Regions from separate parts of the Homo sapiens genome. Here region 2 is linked to region 1. Evidence: promoter capture Hi-C in 16 types of primary human blood cells and fetal thymus (Javierre and others, 2016). All regions are on one chromosome and are shown on one strand. Each heading gives the region's core, a stretch centred on a gene start or on the middle of the fragment in contact. The rest is flanking DNA. Distances are from core to core; before and after follow the strand shown.

Region 1 (2,700 bases), core at 57-2,556:
TCAAAATTGCTTTTTTATGCTCCCTATTTCAGATGAGATCAGGAGCGTTGAGGGTGGTATAACCAGAGACTATGTTCCCTATTTCAATTAACACTACCGATTCACACCATCAGCCAAGTCAGAAACTTTCTACTATTCTTCTCAACTTTATTTTGAAACCTCTTGGAATTTCGGGCCATTCCCTCCCGCCTGGATGAGCACACTCGTTTTCTGCCTACCTGGCCTTTCCGCCTCCACGGTCTTCACTTTCAATCCTTCCTCTATATTTTCACCAAAGATAATGCAATCATACCAAGCTCCTGCTTACAAAACCTTCAACGGCTCCCCATGCATGCAGCATGAAGTCCAAATTCCTCAGCAAGTTCTTCTCAGAGGTATACAATTTAAAGACTTTTAAATTACGCAAACCTGGATTTCGCTTGTAGCGAAATCTGAACACTGGCTTAGTCCACTCTTCACAGCGAAGAGTAAAAAGCAGAGAGGGGAAAGGAAGGGAGACGATGACAAGCGAGGAAAGAAGAGGGGGAAGGCAGTAGGGTCTGAGGGGAGGGAATTGTTTTCCTGGGTAGAGGTGAACGTTTTCGAGGGAAGAGTGTATCGGAGGGAAGTCAAGTGAAGGAACCCAGATCTCTGAGGCAGGAGCGGGTATGCGAGCAGGGAGGCGCTCAGTGGGGAGCTGGAAGTCTCTGAAACAAGAGTTTTCCGAGAAAACGAAAGATCCCTAATGCGAGCGAGGTAACTTCTAATGGGTTCCCAGGTTCTAAGGGGGAGCAGACGTGGCGGGGAGCCTGAGGGAAGTGAGAAGGAAAGGGGAAAGCGGCCAGGAAGGGAGCGTCCGCCGCCGCTGAGAGGGGGACCTCTGGGAAGCCGAGGGGTCCCGTCGGGTGCGGAGGGACGCAGGCGCCTCTGCTCCGGGGCAGAGGAGGTGGAGCGGCAGCGCGCGCGGGCCAGGCAGGATGCCCGGGTTTGTGACCCCCGTCCTCTTTTCACGTTACCTGAGGCAGGACTGAGCAGCCAGAGGGGTGCCTGCGCGGGCAAGAGGAGGAGACGGCGGCAAAGAGGGAGCATAGTAACCCTCACAGCTCGTTGGTGGCAGCGGCTCCTTAGCCTGCGGAGGCGGTGGGAGCCCCTAGCGCAGAAGCCGGCGACTCAGCTAGGCTAGCGGCGGCGGCGAACGAGGAGACTACTGCCATGGCCCCACAGTCGGGGCCGCTCCCCCCGCCTGTTTGGCGGGGCCAGGAGGACGATCCGACCAGCGAAGCCAACAGGGCAGCTGGTAGCTCTGCTGAGCTCCCGGGCCGCGAAAGACTGAAACGCCTACCCGGCCCAGCAGGGGGGTTGGGGGCGGGGTCTCGGCTGGCCACGCCCCTCCCTCAAGCCCTCCCTCAGAGTAGCCAGTCAACCGTCAACTCCTGATAAACGAGGTAGTGGAATTGCCCAATTAGCGCTAGGAATGCCACGTGGTATGAGGGTGGGCACAATGGGCGTCCAGAAAAGCCAATCAACAGCCGTAGGTGCCAACTCCGGAGGACGAAGGGAACCAATAGGAAGGAAGTCGAGGTAAAAACAGAAGAAGCAGTGTGTGGGAAAGGCGGAACCGAGGAGGAGGGAATACACCTGGGGGAAACCCAAGTCCAGGAGCCTCTTAGAGGGCGGGGCAGTAAACACAAGATGGACCAATAAAAATGTTAAACACAGAAATGATTGGTAATTGATAAAGCCAATAGAAAATGGACTAGACTGGCGCGGCTTTCGGGTTGGTCAAGGTATAGCTGAGTAAGGAAAAGCGGTAAGAATGCTGCGTCCTGCAGGATTTCAGTATAGTGAGGAGGAAAAAATATATCAATAATACCGACTTGAAATAGTAAGAGCAATCAGTAGAGCTAAACAAAATGCTAGGGAAGCAATTAATCATGACTATGAGATTCGGTTAAGTGAAAGCTTAGAGGAGGTAACACTTCAGCTAGCTTGAAAACAGATTTTGAAAGAAAGCTGGTGGGGAATAAGTTGGGATTTTTTGTTGTTTTTGTTGGTTGTTTTTTTTTTAGAAGGGTCTCACTCTGTCGCCCAGGATGATGGAGTGCAATGGAGCGATCATGGCTCACTTGCAGCCTCAAACTCCTGGATTAAGATGATCCTCCCAACTCAGCCTCCCCGGATAGCTGGGACTACAGGCACACGCCAGCATGCCTGACTAATTTTTTGTATATTTTGTAGAGACGGGGTTTACCATGTTGCCCAGGCTGGTCTGTAACTCCTGGACTCAAGTGATCGGCCCACGTTGGCCTACGAAAGTGCCGGGATTACAGGCGTGAGCCACCGCTCCCAGCTAAGAATTCTGCCCAGCTGTTCAAGGCACATATTTCTTCACTTTTTGCATGTGCCTGGACATCAGGAGCTCATAATCTCATGACTGAAGAGACTAGAACAGGAGGAGGGCAAGAGCAAGCAGTATGGGCCTTACTGTATTAGCACTCCCAGGGGTTAGAGACCCCTTTTCAGACATCTTAAGACTTTCATCCTCCTGGAAGAGTATAAGTGGTATGCATTCCTGGTGGCCATAAAGTTTAAGAAATATGGCCAGGGCCGGGAGCAGTGGATCACGCCTGTAATCCCACCACTTTGGGAGGCCGAGGCAGGGGGATCACGAAGTCAGAAGATCGAGACCATCCTGGCAAACATGGTGAAACCTCGTCTCTA
Region 2 (2,700 bases), core at 73-2,572, 450 kb before region 1:
AAAATATCTGAGCCATTTTAAGGTACACTTGGTAGCGGGTCCAACAGAATGACAAAGAGGGAAAGAAAAGAAAGTGAAATAAGCAATGAAAAAGAGCACTGGACACTTCTGCTTTGGTGGAGGCAATTGGACTGGGAAAGGGCTACCCACCTCATGGCACGTAAGGCTAATTTATAGGACAGGTCTGGATCATGAGGCAGCAGAGCTGAGAACAAATACTTGGCAAAGGTATGCATGGGAACACTCTCTCGGTGGATGACTTCTCCCAGACCGCTGAAAGGACCTCCTGGAGGAAGATAAGCCAGCCAGTTATTTATCTGTATGCTTCCATCTGCCAGCCTGGACTTGAGCCCCAGTATCTCATGCATGTTTGCTAATCATGGGAACCTTCATTCACTACATTTTAATGTCATAAATGTTCCTGTACTTGTACTCTATTGGAGAGGGGAGCTCAGGGTCATGGGCCAAAGACACCGTGACAAGAGACTCTTTTCTACTTACCTTCCAGCAGTAAGATGCATTGTTTTTGCAGTGTTTGCACTAGCTCATCGTCCAGCTGCAGCTCTTGGAGTTGGCTCAGGAGCTGCTCCTCATTACGGCATACCTTGTCCTGTGCGTAGAGGCCTTCAGGCATTAACCTCTGTTGACCCAGGCCCATCAGTGCAACTTCCAGGGCCAATGACAGGTAGGACTCACTGCTGTTTGGGGAGCCTGCAGCCACAGGTACATGCTGGTACACAGGGGGTCTGCTTTCATTCATATCTGAGGGCAACAGGGCACCAAATTCTTTAGGTTAGGCTTGGTAGAGTCTTCTTTCTTTTTTTTTTTTTTTTTTGAGACAGAGTCTTGCTCTGTTGTCCAGGCTGGAGTACAGTGGTGCAATCTCAGCTCACTGCAGCCTCCGCCTCCCCGGTTCAAGCGATTTTCCTGCCTCAGCCTCCCAAGTAGCTGGGATTACAGGAGCATGCCACAACACCTGTCGAATTTTTGTATTTTTAGTAGAGGGGCGGTTTCATCATGTTGGCCAGGCTGGACTCAAACTCCTGACCTCAGGTGATCTGCCTACCTCGGCCTCCGAATGTGCTGGGATTACAGGTGTGAGCCACCGTATTCGGCCTAGTCTTCTGTCTTTCCCTCCCACCTTTGGGATACAGCTTGGTCAACAGCTATCATAGGGAAGCTGAATCAGAACCCCAGAATAGTAAGGAAAATATACTGAAAAAAAGGTTACACAGAGCCACAAAGATTCACACTTCTTTCTTTTTTAATTTTTTTGGAGACAGAGTCTTGCTTGGTTGCTAAGGCGGGAGTGTAGTGGTGCAATCATGGGTCACTGATGCAGCCTCAACCTCTTGGGCTCAAGCGACCCTCCCACTTCAGCTTCCTGAGTAGCTGGGACTACAGGCACATGCCACCATGCCCAGATAATTTTTAATTTTTTTTTGTAGAGATAGGGTCTCATTATGTTGCCCAGGCTGGTCTCAAACTCCTGGGCTCAAGTGATTTTCCCACCTTGGCCTCCCAAAATGCTGGGATTATAGGCATAAGCCACCATGCCCAGCCCCACCTCCTTTTTTTTTTTTTTTTTTTTGAGAGGGAGTCTCGCTCCATCTCCCAGGCTGGAGAGCAGTGGCACGGTATCGGCTTACTGCAACCTCCGCCTCCTGGGTTCAAGCAATTCATCTGCCTCAGCCTCCTGAGTAGCTGGGATTACAGGCACACACCACCACACCCAGCTAATTTTTATATTTTTAGTAGAGATGGGGTTTCACCATGTTGGCCAGGCTGGTCTCCAACTCCTGACCTCAGGTGATCTGCCTGCCTTGGCCTCCCAAAGTGCTGGGATTACAGGCGAGAGCCACTGCGCCCGGCCCATCTCCTTCTTAATATATGAACTGGCTAAGCCAGTTAGGGAAGTATAAAATCTTATATTTTGCTAGCACATTATGTAATGCTGTAATTGTCTGTTTTTGTTTCTGTCTCTTTCATAGAATGTGAACACCTTAAAGGGATTAGACCATCTTGTTGTTCTAGGTATTGCTATGTGTTAGTGGTGAATGAATAAACCCAAGTGCAAACTCAGGTTTCCAAGATGTAAATGTCACTGTACAGATGAAACAGACCAAAGATGATGATTCACTTTGCAAGGGATCAGAGGGAAGATAAGGAGCAGCCTGCACTTGGCTTGGGGCCACCCCTTATATCTCTACCCAGAGAAATCTGAATCCCTACAGTTAAACTCTTAACTTTTGTAACATTTGCAACCTTTATGTTACTATTATCTCATATGCTCCACCAGTGGGTGCACAATTTCAGGAAGTAAGCACGGTTTAAAAGTCAAAGTCTTGGTTTCTTTTCTTTTCTCCCTCATCTATCTAATAAGTATTTATGAAAGATTGTTAAATGTCAGGTCCTCCACTAAGTGCTAGGAACACAAAGATAAAGAAGTCATAATTTCTGTTTTCAAGTAGCTGACAGTCTAGTAAGAGAGAACTATTTGTAAATAAATTGTAATGTAGCATGCTAAATACTAAAGTAGATATATGTATACAGTAAGTGAAGGTATAAAAGAAAAAAGAATCAATTTTGTCTCTATCTATTCTTGGCTACTCTAATAGAGTCTTGAGGCTCTATTAAATTATTCTCCTCTATTTCTTATTTGTAAAATTGGTACAAAACCATCATGTGGAAGAAAGTTCA

What was found. Contacts are between HindIII fragments. The CHiCAGO score rates a contact against its expected background, and 5 or more counts as called.
Region 2: a contact is called between a fragment that was not itself captured here and the fragment with the promoter of TESK2 in region 1, in 2 of 17 cell types (erythroblasts and total B cells). The highest score is 7.5, in erythroblasts.

What each region holds. Positions count from the first base shown.
Region 1 is chr1:45,489,857-45,492,556 of GRCh38, forward strand. It overlaps TESK2 (testis associated actin remodelling kinase 2), which reads right to left and starts at 1,307. Exons shown (of 11, transcript NM_007170.3): 1 at 996-1,307. RefSeq lists enhancers at 965-1,014, 1,301-1,595 and a silencer at 1,245-1,464. The HindIII fragment of the contact is 2,357 bases long and covers 1-1,939 here.
Region 2 is chr1:45,035,538-45,038,237 of GRCh38, forward strand. ZSWIM5 (zinc finger SWIM-type containing 5) reads right to left here. Exons shown (of 14, transcript NM_020883.2): 9 at 502-762; 10 at 151-286. Among named protein-coding and RNA genes, the nearest start is that of UROD, 25 kb to the left of the region's middle. The HindIII fragment of the contact is 4,650 bases long and covers 1-2,700 here.